4 separate regions of the Homo sapiens genome follow, and all the other regions are linked to region 2. Evidence: promoter capture Hi-C in human tissues and cell types (Jung and others, 2019). All regions are on one chromosome and are shown on one strand. The core of a region is centred on a gene start or on the middle of the fragment in contact, and the rest is flanking DNA. Distances in the headings are between cores, read along the strand shown. Region 1 overlaps BTNL8 (butyrophilin like 8). Region 2 holds the start of BTNL9 (butyrophilin like 9). Region 3 overlaps BTNL8 (butyrophilin like 8). Region 4 has its middle 17 kb from the start of BTNL3.

Region 1 (6,696 bases), core at 1,321-3,820, 120 kb before region 2:
TCTGATTTTGTTATGTCTTATCTTCTGCTAACTTTGGGATTGATTTTCTCTTGGTTCTCTAGTTCTTTTAGTTGTGATAATAGGTTCTTAAATTGAGATCTTTCTAACTTTTTGATGTAGTTGTTTAGTGCTATAAAGTTCCCTCTTAACAGTGCCTTGGTTGTGTCCCAGAGGTGCTGGTATGTTGTGTCTTTTTTCTCATTAGTTTCAAAGAAATTCTTAATTTCTGCCTTAATTTCATTATTTACCCAAAAGTCATTCAGGAGTAGGTTATTCAATTTCCATGTAATTGTATTGTTTTGAGTGATTTTGTTAGCCTTGATCTGTAATCGTATTGAGCTGTGGTCTGAGAGAGCGGTTGTTATGATTTCAGTTCTTTTGCATTTGCTAAGAAGTGTTTTGTGTCTGATTATGTGGTCAGTTTTAAAGTATGTGCTATGTAGTGATAAGAAGAATGTATATCCTGTTATTTTTGGGTGGAGAGTTATGTAGATGTCTATGAGATCCATTTGATCCAGTGTGAGTTCAGGTCCTGAATATCTTGTTAATTTTCTGCCTCAATAATCTATCTAATACAGTCAGTGGGGTGTTGAAGTCTCCCACTATTATTGTGTGGAAGTCTAAATCTCTTTGAAGGTCTCCAAGAACTTGCTTTATGAATCTGGGTGCTTTTGTGTTGGGTGCATATATATTCAGGATAGTTATGTTTGTTGAACTGAACCCTTTACCATCATATATTGCCTTTCTTTGTCTTTTTGATTATTGTTGGTTTAAAGTCTGTTTTGTCTCAAATTATAATTGCAACTCCTGCTTTTTCCTGCTTTCCATTTGCTTAGTAGATTTTCCTACATCCCTTTATTTTGAGCCTATGGATGTTGTTGCGTGTGAGATTAGTCTCTTGAAGACAGCATACCATTTGGTCTTGTTTCTTTATCCAGCTTGCCACTCTGTGCCTTTTAATTGGAGGATTTAGCCAATAAGGCAGTTTAAAAAATATTAATAAGAAATTTTCAGAAACATAAATGTAAAATTCCAATTAGAAATTTTATAAACTCCAAGCAAATGTTTTTTAAAAAACCTAATATATTATGACTGAATTGAGCTTACCCAGGAATAAAAGGTTAGGTCAACATTGGGATATGTATATTTATGTAAGTATTACCTTAATAAGTTAAAGGAGAAAATCTATAAGATTCTCTATAGATGTTAATAAAACATATATAAGTTTCAACATCTAACTATGATTTAAAACACTTGTGAATCCAGAAATAAAAGAAAACCTTTTATGAATTAGCAACAGAAGAGCAGTTCTTTCATCTGATAGAAAGCTATTTAAAAATACCCATAGCTACCATGATACATCATGGTAGGAGGTTTAAACCCAGGAACTTAATGAAGATAACTGCATTAAACATTGCTGTTCAACAATATGCTGGAATAGTAATCATTGCAAAAAAAGAAAGAAAGTGAAAAAAGAATTACAATTTCCAGGAAGGAAAAAATAGAATGCCTATTTCCAACAGGTTATATGATAATACACATTGGAAATCTGGATTAATCTACAGACAAATTCTTTCAATTTATACTTCATTATGTTCATAAAAATAAGATCAGTAAACAAAATACATTGCATTTTATACACCAGCAAAGACAGAAAAACAAACAAATATGCCATGTATAATAACACAAAATGTCACATAGAAATATATTTAATAAAATATTTTTATACTCTTATTAAGGATTAGATAAGTTTACTAAAATAACTAAAATAAGAGGAGAGACACATCTGGCCCTACTGAGCCCCACTGGTCAAGTAGCAACACAATTCCTGATGCTGTCTTTAAGCCTTACTCAGCGTGGGAGGCAAGTGCACACTGGCAGTTGACCATACAGGGAGCATCTGGCCCTGGCCAACCTCAGCAGCTGAGCAGCGACTCAGCCAGCCTTGGGTTCTCTTTGCATATTCCCTAGATAGGAAGACAATAGCAGCTCTGTGATTATCTACAGAGGGAGCATCTGATCTTGCCCAGACCCAGTAGCTATGCAGCAACTCAACCCACCATTGGTGTTCTGCTTAAGGCTACTCTAGACTAGGAGCCAAGCCCAAGTCCACACACATCTGTGGAGCATAGCCTCTGGCCCTGCCCACCCTGAGTGATCAAGCAGCAACCCCAGAAATCTCACCCAGCCTCAGAGCTCAGCACACGTCCCTGACCAACTACAGATTCCAAACAACAGTACCATCTAGCAAGAAAGACAACCTCTAACCCTGGACAATCAGGCAACTGCAGAGCCCAATCAGCAGCACCACCTGTCACAGGAGCACAGCCAGCAGTTCCATTTAATGTCAGAGCACAGGTAGTGGCCCAGCCCAACTAGAGAACCCAACACCCACATCTGCCTGTCTGAGGTTGCTACCAGTTGGCCTATTCAGAATCCCAGGCTATATTAAATAGTGAAGACCTCTTACTGAGAAAGAACACTTGCAAAGGCCAGAAAAGGTGGCCATTTCTTCAAATGTGCAGGCACCAACACAAAGACAGAAGGATTATTTTAAAAATCAAGAAAATATGACACCAAAAGAAACTAATAATGCTCCGGTAATAGACCCTGAAATATGCAAGTCTATGAGACCACTAAGAATTTAAGATAATCCCCTTAAAGAAGTTCAGGAAACTACAAGAAAATGCAGATAGAAAATAAATAACATTTGAAAAATGGTTAATGAACAAAAAGAAAAGCTTGACAAAGGAATAAAAACAATAAAATAGTTAAAATCCTAGAAATGATGAATACAATAACTGAACCAAAATATTAACTAGAAAGCTTCAACAGCAGACTTGATCAAGGCAAAGAATCACTGGGCTTGAAGACTGGATATTTTAAATTATCCAGTCAGAGAATAAAAAAGAAAAAAGAATAAAAAATGAAAAAGACCTATAGGAATTATTGGACACCATTAAGTGTACTGACTTTTGCATAATAGGAGTTTCAGAAGGAGATGAGAGAGAACAAGATCCCGAAGGCATATTTAAGAAAATAATGGCTGAAAATTTCCCAAATGTGGTGAAACACAAAAATATCCAGGTTCAGGAAGCTTGGATGTCATCAATCAAATTCAACCCAAAGAGGATTTTACCAAGATATATCATATTCCAATTATCAAAAAATCAGAGACAAAGAAAGAATACTGAAAGCAGCAAGAGAATGAACCATATCGCATTCAAGAGAGCCCCAATATGGTTTTCAGCCTTTCTCTTAGCAGCAATCCTGCATGCCAGGAAAGAATGGCATTATGTATTCAAAGTGTTGAAGGAAAAGATTGCCAATCAAGATTACATTACTAGCAAATCTGTCCTTCAGAAATGAGGGAGAAATAAAATCTTTCCCAGACAAACAAAAGCTATGGTAATTAATCATTATTAGATCTATTTTATAAATATTACTAAAGGGAGCCCTTTAACTAAAACAAAAGGATTATAATAACAAAAACATATGGAAGTAAAAAACTCACTGGTAAAAATAATATATAGTCATATTCAGAATTCTCTAATACAGTAAGGGTGGTATTTAAAGCTAATTTATCCCTACTGTCACAGTTAAAAGACAAAATTATTAAAAGCACCTATAACTAAAATAAATTGTAAAGAAATACAAATTACAAAACATGTAAATTTTGACATCAAAATCATAAGAAGTGGAAAGGAGTGAAAGTGTAGAGTTTTTGTATGTGATTAAAGTTATCAGAATAAAATAGCCTGTTAAAAGGATATTTTGTGTATGCCTCATGGTAACCACAACACAAAAAAACCACAGCAGGCGGTGGCTGGCAAGATGGCCAAATAGGAACAGCTGCGGTCTGCAGCCCCCAGCAAGATCAATGCAGAAGGGAGGTGATTTCTGCATTTCCAACTGAGGTACCTGGCTCATCTCATTGGGACTGGTTAGACAGTGGGTGCAGCCCACGGAAAGGGAGCTGAAGTAGGGTGGGGCATCACCTCACCTGGGAAGTGCAAGGGGTTGGGGAACTCCCTCTCATAGCCAAGGGAAGATGTGAGGGACTGTGCCATGAGGAATGGTGCACTACAACCCAGATATTATGCTTTTCCCATGGTCTTTGCAACTCATAGACCAGAAGATTCCCTTGGGTGCCTACACCACCCGGGCCCTGGGTTTTAAGCACAAAACTGGGTGGCCGTTTGGGCAGACACCAAGCTAGCTGCAGGAGATTTTCATACCCCAGTGGCACCTGGAATGGCAGCGAGACAGAACCATTCACTCCCCTGGAAAGGGGGCTGAAGCCAGAAAGCCAAGTGGTCTAGCTCAGTGGATCCCACCCCCATGGAGCCCAGCAAGCTATGATCCAAGGGCTTGAAATTCTCACTGGCAGCAGAGCAGTCTGGGGTCAACCCAGGACACTCGAGCTTGGTGGGCAGAGGGACATCACCATTACTGAGGCTTGAGTAGGCAGTTTTTCCCTCACAGTGTAAACAAAGCCACCAGGAAGTTCAAACTCTATGGAGCCTACTGCAGCTTGGCAAAGCCTCTGTAGCCAGACTGCCTCTCTAGATTCCTCCTTTCTGGGCAGGGCATCTCTGAAAGAAAGGCAGCAGCCCCAGTCAAGGGCTTAGAGATAAAACTCCCATCTCCCTGGGACAGAGCACCTGGGGGAAGGAGAAGCTGTAGGCACAACTTCAGCAGACTTAAACGTTCCTGCCTGCCTGCTCTGAAGAGAACAGCAGCTCTCCCAGCACAGTGCTTGAGCTCTGCTAAGGGACAGACTGCCTCTTCAAGTGGGTCCCTGACCCCTGTGCCTTTTGACTGAAAGACACCTCCCAGCAGGGGTCGACAGACGCCTCATACAGGAGAGCTCCGGCTGGCATATGGTGGATGCCCCCCTGGGACGAACCTTACAGAGGAAGGAGCAGGCAGCAATCTCTGCTGTTCTGCACCCTCCGCTGATGATACCCAAGCAAACAGGGCCTGGAGTGGACCTCCAGTAAACTTCAGCAGACCTGCAGCAGAGGGTCCTGACTGGTAGAAGGCAAACTAGCAAACAGAAAGGAATAGCATCAACATCAACACAACAAAAAGGATGTCCACACAGAAACCCCATTCGAAGGTCACCAACATCAAAAACCAAAGGTAGATAAATCCATGAAGATGAGGAAAAACCAGTGCAAAAAGGCTGAAAATTCCTAAAACCAGAATGCCTCTTCTGTTCCAAAGGATTACAACTCCTCACCAGCAAGGGAACAAAACCGGATGGAGAATGAGTTTGATGAATTGACAGAAGTAGGCTTCAGAAGGTGGGTAATAGCAAACTCCTTTGAGCTAAAGGAGCATGTTCTAACCCAATGCAAGGAAGCTAAGAACCTTGAAAAAAGGTTAGAGGAGCTGCTAACTAGAATAACCAGTTTAGAGAAGAAGATAAATGACCTGATGGAGCTGAAAAACACAGCATGAGAACTTTGTGAAGCATACACAAGTATCAACAGCCAAATCGATCAAGTGGAAGACAATGATATCAGAAACTGAAGATCAGCTTAATGAAATTAAACATGAAGACAAGATTAGAGAAAAAAAGAATGAAAAGGAACAAACAATGCCTCCAAGAAATATGGGACTATGTGAAAAGACCAAACCTACGTTTGATTGCTATACATGAAAGTGACGGGGAGAATGGAACCAAGTTGGAAAAGATTCTCCAGGATACTACCCAGGAGAACTTCCCCAACCTAGTAAGACAGGCCAACATTCAAATTCAGGAAATACAGAGAACACCACAAAGATACTCCTTGAGAAGAGCAACCCCAAGACACATAATCGTCAGATTCACCAAGGTTGAAATGAAAGAAAAAATGTTAAGGGCAGCCAGAGAGAAAGGTTGGGTTACCCACAAAGGGAAGCCCATCAGACTAACAGTGGATCTCTCTGCTGAAACCCTACAAGCCAGAAGAGAGTGAGGGCTAATAGTCAACATTCTTAAAGAAATGGATTTTCAACCCAGAATTTCATATCCAGCCAAACTAAGCTTCATAAGTGAAGGAGAAATAAAATCCTTTACAGAAAAGCAAATGCTGAGGGATTTTGTCACCACCAGACCTGCCTTACAAGAGCTCCTGGAGAAAGCACTAAATATGGAAAGGAAAAACCAGTACCAGCCATTGCAAAAACACACCAAGTTGTAGAAACTGCATCAACTAATGGGCAAAATAACCAGCTAGCATAATAATGACAGGATCAAATTCACACATAACAATATTAACCTTAAATGTAAATAGGCTAAATGCCCCAGTTAAAAGACATAGACTGGCAAATTTGATAACGGGTCATGACCCATTAATGTGCTATATTCGGGAGACCCATCTCACGTGCAAAGACACACATAGGCTCAAAATAAAGAGATGGAGGAAATTTACCAACCAAATGGAAAGCAGAAAAAAGCAGGCGTTGCAATCCTAGTCTCTGATAAAACAGACTTTAAACAAACAAAGATCAAAAGAGACAAAGAAGGGCATTACATAATGATAAAGTGATCAATGCAACAAGAAGAGCTAACTATCCTAAATATATATGCACCCAATATAGAAGCACCCAGATTCATAAAGCAAGTTCTTAGAGACCTACAAAGAGACTTAGACTCCCACACAATAATAGTGGAAGATTTTAACACCCAACTGTCAGTATTAGACA
Region 2 (5,926 bases), core at 1,718-4,217:
CCAGGAGCAGGACCCCGGCATCTGTGCATTCTGCACCTCCAGGGCCTGGGAAGAACCACCCTGTACCCAGCCCCCCAACCCCCATCCCTGCAGGCTCAGGGCTGTCTGCTTCCCACTGCCTGGCCTCTCTCTGCTCCCACTCTCAGAGCGGGGTTGGGGCCTAGCCAGGGACCATAAATGGCAGTGGGAGGCAGACAGAGTCCCTGGAGGGAGAAGGCGGGTCCCCAGTAAGGCCCCGCCTTCAGGCCAGGGAGGGCCTGAAGGCCTGGCTGCCAGTCCCTCTGACTGGAGTGGGGACTTGTGGTGTCTCCCTCTGGCTGCCCATGGACCAATCAGCATGCACTTCCTCCCCTCTGAGGTGCATAAAAGCCTGAGGCTCAGCCAGAGCAGGGCAGAGGATGGAGAAACGATGGGATGGCCAGCTGCAGAGAGGAGCTACCCTCTCTGCTGAGAGCTTCAGAGACCTGCAGAGGTGTTCAGAACAACTTGCCTGTGGAGAGGAGCCACTCTCTCCAGGGACTTCTGTCTGCTGAGAGCAGCAGGTGGCAGGAGGACCAGTGGGCAGAGAGGAGCTACCCTCTCAAGGGCCTTCTCTGCTGAGAGCTGAACACTCAGTGGGAGGGGAGGACTTACCTACAGAGAGGAGCTCACTGCAGATCACCTCTGAGCTGTTCTAGCATTCAATAAAGCTTCTCTGCATCTTCTTCACCCTTCACTTGTCTGTGTACCTCATGACCTCATTCTTCCTGGAGGCAGGACAAGAACTCAGGTGCCACAGAGGTTTCTGGGAAGAAAATTGACACCCAAAAATCCCACACAAGGACAGATGAGGGTCCATTCTCTCCAGTGGCACCTATAGTCCGCCAGGGGTTCAGCACCTACCTTCATTTTGGATCTGAGCCTTTATGCATTTACTGGGTCTTGGAATGGGAGGTTCGGCTGGCAGGGACAGCCGCTGTCTACATCTTTCCTACTGCATGATGCGCCTGATATGCAGGCGGTGGTGGCAGGTGGGGTCCCCCTCCCACATCCCACCAGGGCTGTGTCTAGGAGCCACAGAAGTGGACTCTGCCCATTTCTCTCTCTCTTTGCATTTCTGCTGTGACAATCTCACCTCTCCCCAGGCAGCATGGAGGAATCCAACCTAAGGGCAATGAAAAGTTTAGGCCATGTTCTCGTTTTCGAGCAGCCCCTCTCTACAAGTGCAATTTTCCTTCTCTTTCACTTCCCTATGTGGCATGCAAGGGCCTCTGCAATGTGGTCCCATCCACTTCTGTTCAACCTTCCCTTCCACTAGTGAGCCACACACTGGTCTGGCTAACCCCTAGCCTTTTCCTACCTCCCACATGCTAATCACCTCCCTCCACGAAGAATGTCTGTCCTCGCAGGCTCTGTCCTCCCGGGCTGCCCATGGCTTCCCTGATCCTACTGTTTATGCAGCATCCATCTTAAGTATACCCTGTCCTTGAGCCCTCCTCTGTCTCCCCAGGCCCGGGGAACTGCACCCACTGTTTGAGCTCACTGTTCAGCCCCTTTTGCTGTCCTAGGGACATCTGTTCACATTAATAAGCCTGGGTGCCCAGTCTCACCAGCCTGTCTGAGCACAGACAGTCACCTCCAGGTCCATGCCTGAAGCTTGCTGGCTCCCGTCTCCCACCCATGTAGCGCCCTGTCACCTGCAGAGGCCCCTCTACAAACACAGGCACTTCTGGGAGTCCCTGGGGTGTGCTACTGAGGCAGAAAATTTAAAAATACATATGCCTTCATTCACTCCAAGAAAAGTAACAGGCAAGGCAAGGGTTAAAAAGTAAAGGACAAGTTTTCCTCTGCCTATAGCAAGCCCACTGCAAGGACAGTTATAACAGTGTCCAGAAAGCCAAGGCCAAAGGAATGGGCTCCAGATACCCGCCGCCCCACTTCCAGAGCAAGGTTGAAGGAAAAAGAGAGAAAGACAAATTCTTTTACTGTTACTGTTTTCCCAGGCTTCTTAAGCATGATTGTGTTTTACAAATGTCTGTACTTAGCCAGTTCTTGTTTTTCTTTCAATGCAGCTACAAAGTCACCCGCTGTGCAAGGCCACAAGTTATGCTATGCTATAGATTATGTGACCTATCATGATTAGCTGCTTTTGTTTTATTTATTGTAAGTCCACTTACAAAAACCCCGCTCTGTCTTTGTTTAATGCTCAGCTTTTTGGATGTGAGTCCACTGAGCCGGTGTGTACCTAAAATAAACAATCCTCCTGTTCTTCACATCGGTCTCTCCGGTCCTCAGTTTCCCACAACACTGCATGTGCTTGAGCTGCTCGTGCCTCAGCTCTGGCCTGTTCCCTGGAGGGGACGTCAGTGTGGGCTGCAGCTGGGTGGCTGGTGCCTCAGTCCGCTAATGCCCAAGTTGCACCATGGCCTACAGTAAGATGGGGTGGGCTGGGCTGGGGTAGTGCTTGCTGCTTCTTTTCTGACCTCTTCTCCACTAGAGAAATCCCAATCCAGCACCCTCCTGCATTTCTAAGTTGCACGTGAACAGGTTTTGCAGGTTGCCTCACGACAATGCCCCCAGGATTTGTTCCTTACTGACCTTGTCCTGAGGAGAAGGTTATGGTGGGTTAAAAATTGGTCATCAGCCCCTTCCTCGTGGTTAGTTAGTGGAGACTGCAGTCTACTCTCTTTCACTGTTCGGGGACTGCTACCCTGCCTCCTTGGAGTCCGAGCTTCACTGGCACAAAGACCCTGAACCCAGCTGGAGCGTTTTCTCCTCACTTTGAGCCTCTGCAGCTGTCGCTCTCTACAAAGCTCTCAGATACCTTTCCCCTCCTTCTGTGACCCTGGAGAGATATTTTACATGGGAATTCAAGATTTTTCTCAGAGACAGGATGTGACGACTTCCTTGTTTTGTTCTATCCATCTTGGTTTCCATAGCCAAGGGCAGAGCAAACGGCATATATCTTAGGGTGGAAGATGGATAAATAATTCTGTCACACGTGCCCTGGCCTCTGGAGCTCAGCTGCCAGTCCACGTCTAGGGAATCTTAGCATCTGGGACCAAGACACTTTACAGCAATCATCACCCTTTGCAGAGGAGGTGAGCTCACCAGGACTCATCTGCCATTTCAGACCTTTTGCTGCTACCTGCCAGGTAAGTGGCTCATTCTCAACAGCTGCCTACACCTCCATCTTTCAGAAACGGCAATCAGAAAATGAAGGTGGGAGGCTTTGGGAAGGCGTACAATTAGTGGCACCATTTTATTATCCGAGCTTGGCCGCAGCATGGGATGTTTCGAGTGTGGCCAAGAGGAGATGTCCACGCCCGTTTAGGTGGGCCGCATCTCAGGAGGCAGGATCCTGATACATCCCATTGCCCCCACCAGACGAAAAAGATTTCAAGCCTCATTGCGGTTCCCTTCTTGGGGCAGTCCATCTTCCTTAGAGACTAAGAGGGTGGAAATCCTCTTGTGGACCTATCGAAATCAAACCAGCGCAGGCAGTGAGCACTAGCTGGGGTCTGCCGGGGGGAAGGGCATTGCAGGGGGTGTCGGGGAGGCCCGTGGGAGAGGGCCAAGGCCCCACTGACACCTGCGGACTTGCAGCTTGGGGAGTGGAGGACAGGAGACAGGCAAAATTCACCAGTTACACAGCTTACAGAAGTAGCAAAGCAAAGACTATACTTCAGGGATAATTTCTGTACTTTGTTACTAGAGAAGTTTTCCACTCTGGGACCCCACAGTCTCCGCAGACATATGCAGAGCAAAAAATACTTCCTGTGTTTGGGAGAGCAAGAGACATGGCATTTATTAATAACATGGATTTTCCTGCCAGGTTTCATAACGTGGTCATTTAAGTGTGAAATGTAGTCTTAAAATTATGTTAGAGAATCCCCAAGGTTTTGCTCTGCCCCCATGGAAACACTGGGATCGCTCAGGACGCCAACAGCTGCATAGCAGGCGAGGGACTCCTGTGGGAGGACGTGGCCTGTGGACACTGCCAGGTTCGGAGATGTCCTTGGGAGATTTACTATTTGTCAGGAAGATAGTGTTAAGTTCAGGCAAATAATTATATGTGTGGACAGAATCTGAAATTCACCAATAGAGTAAGTAAGAGTGAGAGATTGTGAATGTGTAATACAAATGGAAAAGCAGGTTTTATTTTGTTAAGTTATTCACCAGGGAACCAACTGAAGTTCCTTCTAATCCTCTTTTTCTCCATTCTTGCTTTGCTGAAAGTTGGAGAAAAGGACATGTGTAGAGAAAATGGGATGCTTCAGGGTGGCTCAGAGGACACCAATCCATAGTGATTCGCCTGAGTTTGTCAGGTGGAAGCAGTGATTTTTAAGAGTCACTGATTAAAAACAAACAGTCCTAAGTGTATTAGGGAGATGCCATTTATTTGTGAATCAAAAACTTTTCTCAGTCTCTTAAATTATGGTTTTCCTGTAATAAGAATGATTTATATTTTTAGTGAAAAGTTGTTTTCCTTTCAAATACAGACTTTTTAAAAAGACTTAGTTTGAGTAAGTACCTTTTCATTTGATGCTTTTCTTGTGCCTAACCTTAGGAAATCCAGAATAGTATTTGACAGAAATTATGTTTTCAACTTGCCTTTGACATCTGTCCCACTGCATTTTGCTTTAAAATTCTTTATTTAACAATAAATTATCTAAAAAAATAACAGTAGCAAAGCAAAAAGTACTCATCTTTAAAGACAGACTCGACGGAGGGACCGGAAATCAGAAAAACATCAGGGTTGTTTAGGAATTGCAGGTGCAGGAGGAGAGAACAGGAGTGGGGCGGGCTGGGGGCAATGAGAGAGCAAGAAGAAAAGAAAAATAAAAAGAGAAGGAGAAGAAAGAAATGGGCTTTTGCTGGGTGCAGGCAGTGACATTTCTCAGGACCCCTTATTTCTCCCTGTGCCTTCCGGAGGGAGCAGCCCAAGGCTCCTGGGAGGACAAGCAGCACGTGCCCGCCGGCAGAGCTCAGCTCCAGCTGGAGGACCCCTTTGTGGTCCTTGCGCACACTGGGTTTTCCTTCTTCCCCAAATATCCGACGCGTCCAGTCCCTTACTCCTTCCCCAGGCAAAACCTCCTCACCAGGAACAACCTGAAATCAATTTACACTGTAATCAAAATAGCAGAGGGTGGAAAGTGTTTCCTTCGAGGAGGGGACTTACGCTTCAAGTAAGGATTGAGCACCCTGGATCCTTAACTGAAGAGTGAGGTCAGAAAGGGCGGACGCACAGCAGCAAACGGGGAGGAGGGTGCTGTCCAGGAGCCGCTGACTTTTCCCTTCAGGAAGCTGCCAGACCATCTCTCTCTGCTAAAGGCTTTCAAGATGATACCCTTGAGTGTTGGGAGCAAAGGGACCAGGTACCTGTTCCTCCTGGCTCAGAAGATGCTCTTGACAAAGTCTTAGGGAGACCTCAGCTTTAAGTTGTTTTATCTGGCAGCGGGATTTTAAATTTTGTATTCATTAGTTGGCTGGTTGGCTGGTTTTGTGGCTGGCACCGTGTGAGCCGGTCGCTTCTTCAGTGCCTCTGTGTGATGGCAGGTTAGGGTGAGTGTTTGGTCTGTGGCCAGCTGGTTCCTGAGACGGTCATGGTTTTGGGTAACAGGAGTGACGGAAGGGTGTACCCAGACACACGACGTAGCTGGTGAGGAATCTGAATTCGAGAAGTGCAGAGCGAGGCTCTGGAACCAGACAGTGGGTGGAACCCCACCCCACCACTCACCCACTGTGTGCAGGAGCAAGTCACTCAGCTCCTGGGCCTCCGTTTCCTTATCTATAATTTGGACCTATTAGTAATAATAATAATAAAAATAATAATACTGAGGTATAGATAAGTGTTTGATAGATAGGAAGTACCCAATGCATGTTAGTTTTATTACTGTCAGCACGTGTGTGTGTGTGTATGTGTCTGTGTGTGTGCATCTGTGTG
Region 3 (6,115 bases), core at 3,518-6,017, 94 kb before region 2:
AAGGGGTGGGAATTCTTCCAAACTCATTCCATGAGGACAGTATTATCCTGATGCCAAAATCAGAAAAGAATACAACAAAAAGGAGAATGCTACAGGCCAATATTCATTATGAACATAGATGCAAAAATTCTCAACAAAATACTAGCAATCCAAATCCAATAGCATATCAAAAAGAATATACACCATGATTAAGTGGGATTGATTCTAGGGATGCAAGGATGGTTCAACATATGGAAATCAATAAATTTGATATATCACATCAACAGAATGAAGACCAAAAAGTATATGATCATCTCAATAGACATTAAAAAATATTTGATGAAATTCAACATCCTGCATGATATAAACTCTCAACAGTTTAGATGTAGAAGAAATGTACCTCAACACAATCAAGGTCACATATGACAAACTCACAGCTAACATCATACAGAATGGGGAAAAGTTGAAAGCTTTTCAATAAGAACTGGAACAAGACAAGGATGCCCACTTTTACTACTCTTATTCAACAAAGTACTGGAAGTCCTAGCCGGAGCAATCAGGCAAGAGCAAAAAATAAATGGCATCTAAATTGGAAAGGAGAAAGTCTAATTGTCCCTGTTTGCAGACAACATGATCTTTATATAAAAAAACTAAAGATTCCATCAAAAAAACCTCTTAGAACTGATAAACAAATTCAGTAATGTTGCAGGATACAAAATCAACATATAAATTCAGTAGTGTTTCTACACACCAATAACAAACTAGTTGAAAAAGAATCAAGAAAGCAGTATCATTTACAATAGCTACAACAAAATAAAATACCAAGGAATAAGTTTAACCAAGGAGGTGAAGATCTATACAATAAAAACTACAAAACATTGATGAAAAGAACTGAAGGGAACACAAACAAATGAAAAGATACCCCATGTTCCTGATGTAAGAGAATTAAGATTGGTAAAATGACCACACTACCCAAAGTGATCTACAGAGTCAATGCAATCCTTATCAAAATACCAATGACATTCTTTAAAGAAATAAAAACCAAAATCCTAAAATTCATATGGAGCCACAAAAGACTCCAAACAGCCAAAACATTACTGAATAAAAGAACAAAGCTGGAAGTATCACACTATGGAGCTTCAAAATACACTACAAAAGCATGCTAGCCAAGACAGCGTGGTACTAGCATAAAAGCAGACACACAGAAGAATGAGACAGAATACAAAACCCAGATATAAATCCACATATTTACAGTCAGCTCACTTTTGAGAAAGGTGCCAAGAATATATATTAGAGAAAAGAGTCTCTTCAAAAAATAGTGCTGCATTTGCTAGTATCAATATGCAGAAGAATGAACTAACCCCTATCTCTCACCATATATAAAAATAAACTCTTGATGAATTAAAGGCTAAAATGTAAAACCTGAAACTATAAAGCTACTAGAAGAAAACATAGGAAAAATGCTTCAGGACATTGGACTGGGCAATAATTTTTTTTTATGTGATTTCAAAACCACAGACAATAAAAGCAGAAACAGACAAGTGTGATTATATCAAACTGAAAAGCTTTTGCACAACAAAGGAAATAATTAACAGAGTGAAGAGGTAACTTACAGAATGGGAGAAAATATTTGCAAACTATACATCTGACTAGGTATTCATATCCAGGATATAAGGAACTCAAACAACTCAAGAGTGAAAAAACCCAAATAATCCAATCACAAAAGGGAAGATAGACTTTTTTTTTTTTTTTTTTTTTTGAGGCAGAGTCTCGCTCTGTCGCCCAGACTGCAGTGCAATGGCGCAATCTTGGCTCACTACAACCTCAGCTTCCTGGGTTCAAGTGATTCTCCTGCCTCAGCCTCCCGAGTAGCTGGGATTACAGACACCATCCACCACACCCAGCTAATTTTTATATTTTTAGTAGAGACGGGGTTTCACCAGGTTGGCCAGGCTGGTCTCTAACTCCTGACCTCAGGTGATCCATCCAGCCTCCCAAAGTGCTGGGATTACAGGCATGAGCCACCGTGCCTGGCCAGGATGATAGACCTTATATACATTTCTTAAAAGAAAACATACAAATGAACAACAGATATATAAAAATCTGTTCAGTATCACTAGTCATCAGGGAAATGCAAATCAAAACTACAATGAGATAAAACATTACTCAAGTTAAAATTGCTATTATCAAAAAGACAAAAGATAACAATTGTTGATGTGGAGAAGAGGAACACTTACACACCATTGGTGGGATTTTCAATTAGTGTGTTCATTATGGAAAACACTATGGAGATTTCTCAAAACATTAAAAACAAAACTACCATAGATCCAGCAATCAAAGTACTGAGTATACCCAAAAGAAAGAAAATCAACATGTTGAAGAAATCTGCACTCCTATGTTTATTTCAGCACTATTCACAATAGCTAAGATATGGAATCAACCTAAGTGTTTATTAACAAATTAATGAAAAGCAAATATGATGTATATACAAAATAGAATATTATTCAGTAATAAAAAGAGTGAAATCCTATTATTTGCAACAACATGGATGAACTTAGAAGACACTACGTTAAGTTACATTAAACCATACATGATCTCACCCATAAGTGGAATCCAATAAATGGATCTCATAGAGGTACAGAATCTAGAAGACATTAAGTAAATTAAGCCAGACACAGAAATACAAATATCACATGATCTCACCCACATATGGAATCCAAAAAGTTTATCTCATAGAAGTAGAGAAGTAGGGGTTACCAGAGACTGGTGGAGCTGGGGATAGGGTAGAGGGAGGAATGGAGAAAGACTGGCCAATGCATACAAAGTTACAATTAGATAGGAAGAAAATGTTCTGGTGTCCTGTTGCATAGCAAAGTGACTATAGTTAACAAGAATGTATAGTATATTTCAGAATAGCTAGAAGAGAGGATTTTGAATGTTCTCACCACAAAGACACGACAAGTGTTTGAGGTGATGGAAATGATCATTACACAATGTATACATGTATCACGACATCACATTGTACCACATAAATATGTACAGTTATTATGAGGCAATTAAAATTCTTTTAAAAAGCTGATCTCATAGAAGTAGAAAGTGGAATAGTGGTTACTAGAGGCTGGTAAGGGTAGAGGGATTGCAGGGGATGAGGAGAGGTTGATCAGGTACAAAATTATATTTAAATAGCAGCAATAAGTTCCAGTCTTCTATTGCACAGTAGGGTAACTATAATTACCAATAACATATTACATATCTCAAAATAGCTAGAAAAGAGGATTTTGAATGTTCTCACCTTAAATGATCAATGTTTTAGGTGATACCTTAATTTGATCATTACATATTGTACACATATATCAAAGCACCATTTTGTACCCTGTAAATATGAACAATTATTACATCAATACAAAGTAAAATAAAACTTAAAAAACTGAACACAAATAAAGGAAATATATTCCATGTTCAGGGATTGGAAGGATTAGCATTGTTAAAATGTTTATACTACCCAAAGCTATTTACAGATTCAATACAGTCTCTCTCAAGATTCTAACGTCACTTTTCACAGATAAAGAAAAAAGGAATCCTTAAATTCATATGGAATCACAAAAGATCTCAAATAGCCAAAGCAATCTTGAGCAAAAATAACAAAGTTAGAGTCACAATACTCTGATTTCAAAATATAAAGTGATTATAATTAAAACGTCCTGGGGCTGGCACAAAAGCGGACACATCACTCAATGGAACAGGATGGAAAGTTTGGAAGTACGCCCATGTGTTTATGAACAATTGATTTTTGAAAAAGGTGCCAAGAACACAGGATGAAGAAAGGACAGTCTCTTCAATAAATGATATTGAAACAAGTGGATATCCACATGCACATGTGTGAAATTGAACCCTTATCTCACACCATGTACAAAAACGAACTCAGATTAAAAAGTTAAACATAAGACCTGCAACTATAAAACTGCTAGAAGAAAATATATGGGCAAAGCTCCATGACATTGATCTTGGCAATAATTTTTTTGAATATGACATAAAAAGCACAGACAAAAAAGCAAAAATAGACAAATGGGATTACATCAAACTAAAAAGCTTCTGTACAGCAAAGAAAACAGTTAACAAGGTGAAGGACTACCCACAGAGTGAGAGAAAATATTTGCAAACCAAACAGCTGATAGAGGGTTAATAACCAAAATATATAAGAAATTCAAACAGCTCAATAGAAAGAAAACAAATAACCTGATCTTAAAAAAGGGGAAAGGACCTGAACAAACATTTCTCAAAATTACATTTAAGTGGACAACAGGGAGAGTGTAGGCTTGCGCTAACTCTCTTCTTTCACCTAGTTGCACTCCTGAGAGCAAGATGGGTCACCAGCAGCTGTACTGGAGCCACTCATGAAAATTCGGTCAGGGTTCTTGCTCTTGTCGAGTCTGATCCGGAAATATGGCCTCAATATGTGCTGGCAGTGTTTCCATCAGCACGCAAAGGACATATGTTTCATTAAGTTGAACTAAGTGCTCTTCCTTGAATGGATTATCCAAGGCATCTACGCAATGAAAAACCATGATAGCTCTTTGTACATAAAATAAACATTAATAAATAAATAAATAAATAAATAAATAAATGGACAACAGGTACATGAAGAAATGCTCAGCATCTCTAATCATTGTGGAAACGCAAATTAAACCACAATGAGATATCACCTTACACCTCTTTGAATGGCTATTATCAAAAAGATTAAAGATAAGTGTTGGCAAGGATGCTGAGAAAAGGAACTCATACATTATTGGTGGGAATGTAAATTAGTATGGCAATTATGGAAAACTGTATGGAGTTTTCTTAAAAAACTAAGAATAGAACTACTCTATGATTCAGCAGTCCTACTTGTGGGAATATATGAAAATGGATTGTAATCAATATGTTGATGGAATAGCTGTATTACTCACAATTGCTAAATTCAGTCTAAGTGTCCATCATTCAGATGAATGGATAAAGAAAATGTGATCTATAAATACAATGGAATACAATATTTAGCCTTTAAAAAAAGGATGGACATTTTGTCGTTTGCAACTCCGAGGATAAACCTGAAGGACATTATGCTAAGTGAAATAAGCCAAGCACAGAAAGATGAATCTCTTGTGATCTGATATATGTCAAAGCTAAAAAAGTTGAACTCATAACAATAGAGAGTAGAATGTTACCAGAGGCTGGGGCAGAGGGCAAGAGAGAATGGGGAGTTGTTGGTCAAAGGGTGCAAAGATTGAGATAGACAAGAGGAATATGTTTTGAAGTCTACTGAAGAACAGGGTGACTGTAGTTAACAATAATATATTGTATATTTCAGAATAACAGAAAGAATAAAATTTAAATGTCTCATCATAAAAATGATAAGTAAGGGAGATGATGGATGTCTTAATTAGCTTGATTTAATCATTCCACATTGTAGGCATGTATCAAAGAGTCACACCGTACCCATTAATATGTATGTGATTTGTCAATTTAAATAATAGTAATAAAAGGAGGGAAGAGATAGTTTTTCAGACAAGATGCAAATATTTTAAGACATCAGTTCTCTCTGAATTGATCTATAGATTCAATACAATTCCATTCAAAATCTCAGCAGAATTTTCTTAGAACTTGACAAGTCAATACAAAAATTTATGTCGCAGAGCAAAGTTGCCAAGGCACAACTGAATAAGAAGTGAGGAAACTTAGTCTAGTTTATACCAAGACATATCCCGGAACTGTGGTGATTAAGCCACTCAAAATTATTGGCACAAAAGTGGACAAGTAGACAAATGACACAGAGCAGAGAGCCCAGAAACAAATCCAAACCTAAACAGAAAGCTTATTGGGTCAGAGGTGATGCTGCACGTATCAGTGTGTAAAGGAATGTCCATTCAATAAATGTTGGCACAGTCGTTATCTGTTGAGAAGAAAATTAAATAGAACCACTACCTCATTTTATAACAAAAGTACAATCAAAGTATTAAGCCTATAGGAGAATTTATAGAAACCTATTTCTTCCATTGTGGGGAACAAGGTGACTCCTTAAAGAAGAATTGAATTGTGTCTTTTGTTCACCAATAACTAAAATGTCTGTGGGATTGTTTTTCAGATACCTTTTTCGAGCCTA
Region 4 (6,739 bases), core at 2,276-4,775, 68 kb before region 2:
CTGAAAGACTCAGCGAAGCCATAGCAATCATAGGTAACGGGGATAGCATTACACATCTGTTTCTTTTGCCACATTATCCCAACTGGTTCAAAGCCCTGAGGAAAGTAGTCACTTTATTGGCCACTTTTTCATTTATAATCACTTTAGTGTTAAAAATATTTACCCACAGAATGGACCTAAGCGACCTGGTCAAGTAGAAAAGGCATAGAACTACACTGTAGATAACACTGGTACACTGGCTACACCTTTTTCTACTTCTCCTGTTTGCCTCTCCCCTCCCCCACACCAATGGTAATTTATTCTTCACACATTATTCTTCATTTCCAGAAACTGTTACTTCATAGTAATTACTTAAGCAGGAGCACGAAAATCCCTGACAAGTCATTTTCATCTTGTGTCCAGAATTGGTGGGTTCTTGGTCTCCCTGACTTCACGAATGAAGCCACAGACCCTCACGGTGTTACAGTTCTTAAAGATGGTGTGTCTGGAGTTTGTTCCTTCTGATATTCGGACGTGTTTGGAGTTTCTTCCTTCTGGTGGGTTCGTGGTCTCTCTGGCTTCAGGAGTGAAGCTGCAGACCTTAGAGATGAGTATCACAGCTCACAAAGGCACTGCAGACCCAAACAGTGGGCAGCAGCATAATTTACTGCAAAGAGCTAAAGAACAAAGCTTGCCCAGGGCAGAAGGTGACCCAAACTGGTTGCCGGTGCTGGCTCTGGCAGCCGCTTTTATTCCCTTATCTGACCCCACCCACATCCTGCTGATTGGTCCATTTTACAGAGAGCTGATTGGTCCATTTTGACAGGGTGCTGACTGGTGCATTTACAATCCCTGAGCTAGACACAAAGTGCTGATTGGTGCATTTACAATCCTCCAGCTAGACATAAAAGTTCTCCAAGTCCCCACCAGATTAGCTAGATAGAATGCTGATTGGTGCATCTGCAAATCCCTAGCTAGACACAGAGTGCTGACTGGTGCATATACACTTCTCCCTCTAGACATAAAAGTTCTCCAAGTCCTCACCCGACCCAGGAGCCCAGCTGGCTTACCCAGTGGATCCCCTGCAGGGGCCACAAGTGGAGCTGCCCGCCAGTTCTGCGCAGCACGCCTGCACTCCTCAGCCCTTGGGCACTTGATGGGACCGGACGCTGCAGTCGTGGAGGGTCGGGCCCGCAGGAGCCCACCGTGCAGGTTGGGGGGGCGGGACTCAGGCATGGCGGGCTGCCGGTCCCGAGCCCTGCCCCGCCAGAGGCGGCTGAGGCCTGGCAAGAAATCGAGCAGGGCGTGGGTGGGCTGGCAGTGCTGGGGGACCCCACGCACCCTCCACAGCTGCTGGCCTGGGTCCTGCGAGCGCCACCACAGTCCCGGTTCCCACCCATGCTTCTCCCTCCACAGCTCCCCACAAGCAGAGGGATCCGGCTCCAGCCTCGGCCAGCCCAGACAGGGGCTCCCACAGTGCAGCGGCGGGTTGAAGGGCTCCTCAAGGTGGCCAGAATGGAAGCCCAGGAAGCACTGAGAGCGAGCACGGGTCACCAGCACGTTGTCACCTCTCAGTCTCATACTAAATTTGTTTTCACTGAGTCATGTTATGAATTATATAGTCACCCGCTTAAACATTTCAATGCTTTAACTGTCTTGAAAAATATAAAATAAAAAAATTAAAAAAAAAAAATCAGGGCTCTCATCCAACTCCCTGGTGGCTTCCGCAGGCATGTTTTTTGATGGCTGCTTCATGCTTCTGGGTTTCTTCCTTCACATGTTCTTCAGGCAAAGCTGGAATTCTCTTATTCCATGGTTCCCGGCAATCCTCAGGCTCCGGGTCCTGCTCTGCCTTCTGCTTGAGCGTCTGGGAGCGCAGCGGGGGCTCCTGGGGCATTCCCTGCTCCTGGCCCCATAGGTTCTGAGGGGCCTTTCTTCCGCGAGCCGGCTTTCCTCCATCGCTTCCCACAGGCTTTGCCCGCGACCGAACAGGGCGAGCAGGCATTTTCCTTCACGTAGGCCTGAAAAGCCACGTCACCCGCATCCCTGAAGGCGGCCCCACCAGCGACTACGGCTTGGGCTCCACGGCGCGCTCTGCCAGGGACCCCCCCCCCCCACCGCCGGTGCCCGAGTGGGCCGCGTAGGCGGGGCCCAGCCCATAGGCCGCCAGCTCCAGCCGCTGCAGCGTTCTACGCGGTCCGGGACGCACTGCGCAGACAACAAAGCTGCTGGAGGCGTCCCCAGGCTGGGCCAGCGGTGTGGCCTGGGTTCCTGCACCGAGTGGTGCAGCAGCTGCTTGGCTGGGCTGGGCAGCAGGTATAAGGACCTAGAGTTGCCGTCCTCCCTGGTGAACAGAATCGAGGAATGGTTGGGCCCGTTGGGGTCTTTGCCCAGATCCACCGCCTCCACCATGTTTGACGCCGGGCACCAGAGGAGCCGCCCCCTCCCGAGCGCCATGGCACGCACAGAGCGACTGACTGAGCCACTACTGATTTTTAAAAAGAAAATATTCCTCTTATTTGTGACAACATGGATGAATCTGGAGAACATCATGCTAAACGAATAAGCCAGGCACAGAAAGACAAATACTGCATGCTCTTAATTATATGTGGAATGCAAAAAAGCTTAACTCAGAAGCAGAGTAGAATGGTGACTACCAGAGGCTGGGGGCAGGGGAGGCAATAGGGAGATGTTTGCCAAGGAGTACAAAACTTTTGTTAGATAAGAGGGATATGTTACCATGCAAACGGTAATCAAAAGAAAATAGGAGTGGCTATACATATATCAGACAAAGTAAACTTTAAGTCAAAAGTTGTCCCTAGAGACAAAGAAGGTTATTACGTAATGATAAAAGGGTGTATTAAACAGGAAGATAGAATAATTGTAAACGTATATGCAACCAACTTTACAGCACCTAAAGTTAACATTGAGAGAGAAGAAAGGAGAAATTGACAGCAGTAGAACAATAATAGGAAACTTTAACACTCCACTTTCAGTATTAAATTGAATATCCAGGCAGAAAATCAAGAAATAGTGAACTTGAACAACACCGTTAGCCAAATGGACTTAACAGACATGTACAGAACTTTTCACCCAACAGCAGAAGAATACACATTCTTTTTAAGCTTACAAGGAACATTCTCCAAAATACATCACATGTGAAGCCACAAGACAAGTTTTAACAAATTTAAGGAGATCAAAATTGTATGAAGTATCTTTTCTGACCACAATGAAGTGGAACTAGAAATCAATAACGAAGAAAGGTGGACAATTCACAAATACATGGAAACTAACATAATCTTAAAAACTACTGGATCAAAAAGAGAATTTTAAATACATCTTGAACTGAATAAAACTGAAAAAACATACTAAAAGTTATGGGATGCAATAAAAGCAGTAGTATGAAGAAAGTTTGTAGTGATAAATGCCTAAATTTAAGAAGTGGAAAGATATCAAATAAACAACCTAACTGTACACATCAAGGAACTAGAAAAAGAAGAAGCAGCTAAGCCAAAGCTGGCAAAAGGAAGAAAATAATAGGGATTAGAATAGAAAAAAGTCAAACGGAAAGTAGAAAAACTATAGAAAAATACCAAAAATAAAAATTGCCTTTTAGAGAAGAATAAAATTGGCAAACTCTTAGCTATACTAAGAAAAAAAGTAAAGAAACAAAAGCAGAATTAAAGAGGAGACATTACAACAGATCCCTCGAAATAAAAAGGATCATAAGAGACTATTATGAACAATTATATGCCAACAAATTGGATAACATAGAGGAAATGGGTAAATTCCTAGAAACATACAACCTACTAAGGCTGAACCAAGAATAAATGGAAAGCCGGAACATACCAATTACAAAGATATTAAAGTAGTAATAAAATGCCTCCCAGCAAAGAAAAATCCAAGACCAATTGGCTTCACAACTGAATTCTACCAAACATTCAAAGAAGAAATAACACCAATCCTTCTTAAACTTTTCCAAAAAATAAAAATAGAGGAAACACTTCTAACCGCTTTATGAGTCCAGCAGTACTCTAATACCAAAACCAAACACACCACAAGTAAAAAAAACTACAGACCAATATCTCTGATTAACATACATGCAAAACATCTTTGATAAATTGCTAGCAAACCAAATTCAACAACACATCAAAAAGTTTATACACCATGACCAAGTGAGATTTATCATTGGGATACAAGGTTGGTTTAGTACATGCAAAACAATCAATATGATAAACCACATTAAGAGAATGAAAGATTAAAACCACATAATCATCTCTATAGATGCAATAAGCACATTTGATGAAGTTTAATATCCTTTCATGGTTAAAAAATCCAAGGAAAATAGATATAGAAGATGCTGTGGTATGAATGTTTGTGTCTCTAAAGTTCATATGTTGAAACCTAAACCCCAAAGCAATAGTATTAAGAGGTGTGGGCTTTAGGAGATGATTAAGTCAGGAGGGTTTCTCCCTCAAAAATGGGATTAGTGCCTTTATAAAAGAGGCCTAAAAGAGTTGTTCATCCTTCTACCATGTAAAAATAAGAAGATGCCATCTTGAAACAGAGAACAAGCTCTCACCAGACACTGAATCAGCTAATGCCTTGATCTTGGACTTATCGGCCTCCAGAACTGTGAGCAATAAATTTTTCGTGTTTATAATTTCTTATTTTAAGAGATTTTGCTATTGCAGCCCAAACAGATAAAGATGGCAGGAAATTTCCTCAACATAATAAAGGCCATTTATGACAAGTCCACAAAGAATATCATTATCAATGAGGGAAACTGAAGCTTCTGCTAAGGTCTGGTAAAAGAAAAGGATGTTCCTTCTTGCCACTTCTATTTAACACAGTACTGAAAGTACTAGCAAGAGTAATCAGACAAGAAAAAGAAAGAGAAGCCATACGAATCAGAAAGGAAGAAGTAAAAGTGTCTCTGTTTGCATATAATATGATCCTTTACTTAGAAAACTGTAAATATTCCACCAAAAAAACTTATTAGCAATAATAAATAAATTCAGTAAAGTTACAAGACGTGAAATCAACATAAAAATCAGCTGGTTCTATACACTAACAAAGAAATATCTACAAAGGAAGTCAAGAAAACAATACCATTTACAAAAGCTACAAAACGATAGGAATAAATCTAACAAGGGAAATAAAAGATCTGAACCACCTTTCCAAAGAAAAATTTTTTTTTAGAGATGGGGTCTTGCTATGTTTCCCAGACTGGTCTCAAACTCCTGTCCTCTAGTGGCCTCCCAAATTGTTGGGATTACAGGTGTGAATCACCATGCCTGGTTCAGGTAAAAGATCTGTATACTGAAAACTATAAAACATTGATGAAAGAAATTAAAGAGAACATTAATAAACAGAAAGAAGACCCCATCTCTACAAAAACAAAAAAAATCCTAAAATATTAGTCAGGCATTGCGGCACATGCCTGTAGTTCCAGCTAATGGGGAGGCTGAGGAGGGAGGATCACTTGAGCCCAGGAATTTGAGGGTTCCGTGAGCTATGATCACACCACTGCACTCCAGCGTGGGTGACAGAGTGAGACCTTCTCTCAATAAATAAGTAAATAAATAAATAAATAGAAAGATATCCTGTGTTTTGGTTTGGAAGAATTAATACTGCTAAAATTTCTATATATCCTAAATGATCGATAGGTTTAACACTACATAGAAATTTTAATGGCATTTTCCACAGAAACAAAAAATACTAAAATTTGTATAAACCCACAAAAAGTTTTAAATATCAAAATAATATTGAGACAGAAAAATAAGGTTGGAGCATCATACTTCCTGACTTCAAAATGTATTGCAAAGCTACAGAAATCAAACAGAATGCTCCTGGCATAAAAGCCAACACATAGACCAATGGAACAAAATAAGAAACTCATAAATAAACCCAAGCACATATGGCCAATTAATTGTCAACAAGTTCACCAGGAAGACAAAATGGGAAATTGATAGTCTCTTCAATAACTGATGTGGGTAAAACCGGACATCTGCCCGCAAAAGAAATCTGACCCCTATCTTACACCACACACAAAAACAAACTCAAAATGGACTAAAAGCTTAAAAAATAATACCTCAAAACATTTAAATTCTAAAAAAAATACAGGAAAACTTCTTGACATTAGTCTGAAAAGGATTTTTTAAAAAATAATTCACCAAAAGCACAAGCAATAAAAGCCAAAATAAGTAAGGGGCATTACATCAAACTAAAAAGCTTCTGCGTGCCAAAGGAAACAATCAACAAAATGAATAGGCAGCCAATCAATTGGGAGAAAATATTTGCAAGCTATATATCTTATAAGACTTTAGTACTCAAGATACATAAGGAACTAACACTCAACTCAATAGCAATGAAACAAATAATCCAGTTTTTAAAACGGGCAAAGGTCCTGAATAGACACATCTAAAAAGAAGACATACAAATGACTAACAGGAATATAAAAATGTCCAACATCATTAATCATCAGGGAAATGACAATCGAAACCATGAGATACCATCTCACAACTGTTAGGATAGCCATTATCAAAGAGACAAGATATAACAGGTGTTGGTGAGGGTGTATAGTAAAGAAAACCCATTGACACTGTTGGAAATGTAGATTGTTGCAGTCATATTGGAAAACAATGTGGAGTTTCCTCTAGAAATTTTAAAAAATAGAACTAATATATGACCCAGTAATCCCTCTTCTGGCTATATACTCAAAGGAAGTGAAATCACCACCTTGTAAACATATATGTGC

Evidence for each region. The method cuts DNA at HindIII sites, captures the fragments that hold promoters and counts their contacts. A contact is called where the count stands out against the background at its distance.
Region 1: a fragment that was not itself captured here is called in contact with the fragment with the promoter of BTNL9 in region 2 in 4 of the 25 tissues and cell types used here (H1 embryonic stem cells, dorsolateral prefrontal cortex, liver and 1 more).
Region 3: a fragment that was not itself captured here is called in contact with the fragment with the promoter of BTNL9 in region 2 in 5 of the 25 tissues and cell types used here (dorsolateral prefrontal cortex, heart left ventricle, mesenchymal stem cells and 2 more).
Region 4: a fragment that was not itself captured here is called in contact with the fragment with the promoter of BTNL9 in region 2 in 4 of the 25 tissues and cell types used here (H1 embryonic stem cells, lymphoblastoid cells, mesenchymal stem cells and 1 more).

What each region holds. Positions count from the first base shown.
Region 1 is chr5:180,922,203-180,928,898 of GRCh38, forward strand. All of the region lies in intron 3 of BTNL8 (butyrophilin like 8), which reads left to right. Among named protein-coding and RNA genes, the nearest start is that of BTNL8, 26 kb to the left of the region's middle. The HindIII fragment of the contact is 3,989 bases long and covers 577-4,565 here.
Region 2 is chr5:181,037,299-181,043,224 of GRCh38, forward strand. It overlaps BTNL9 (butyrophilin like 9), which reads left to right and starts at 2,968. Exons shown (of 11, transcript NM_152547.5): 1 at 2,968-3,134. RefSeq lists an enhancer at 1-411. The HindIII fragment of the contact is 13,573 bases long and covers 1,163-5,926 here.
Region 3 is chr5:180,941,415-180,947,529 of GRCh38, forward strand. It overlaps BTNL8 (butyrophilin like 8), which reads left to right. Exons shown (of 8, transcript NM_001040462.3): 4 at 6,098-6,115. It also overlaps the pseudogene RPS29P12. Among named protein-coding and RNA genes, the nearest start is that of BTNL3, 44 kb to the right of the region's middle. The HindIII fragment of the contact is 3,923 bases long and covers 2,807-6,115 here.
Region 4 is chr5:180,968,372-180,975,110 of GRCh38, forward strand. It overlaps the pseudogene TMEM69P2. Among named protein-coding and RNA genes, the nearest start is that of BTNL3, 17 kb to the right of the region's middle. The HindIII fragment of the contact is 3,778 bases long and covers 1,637-5,414 here.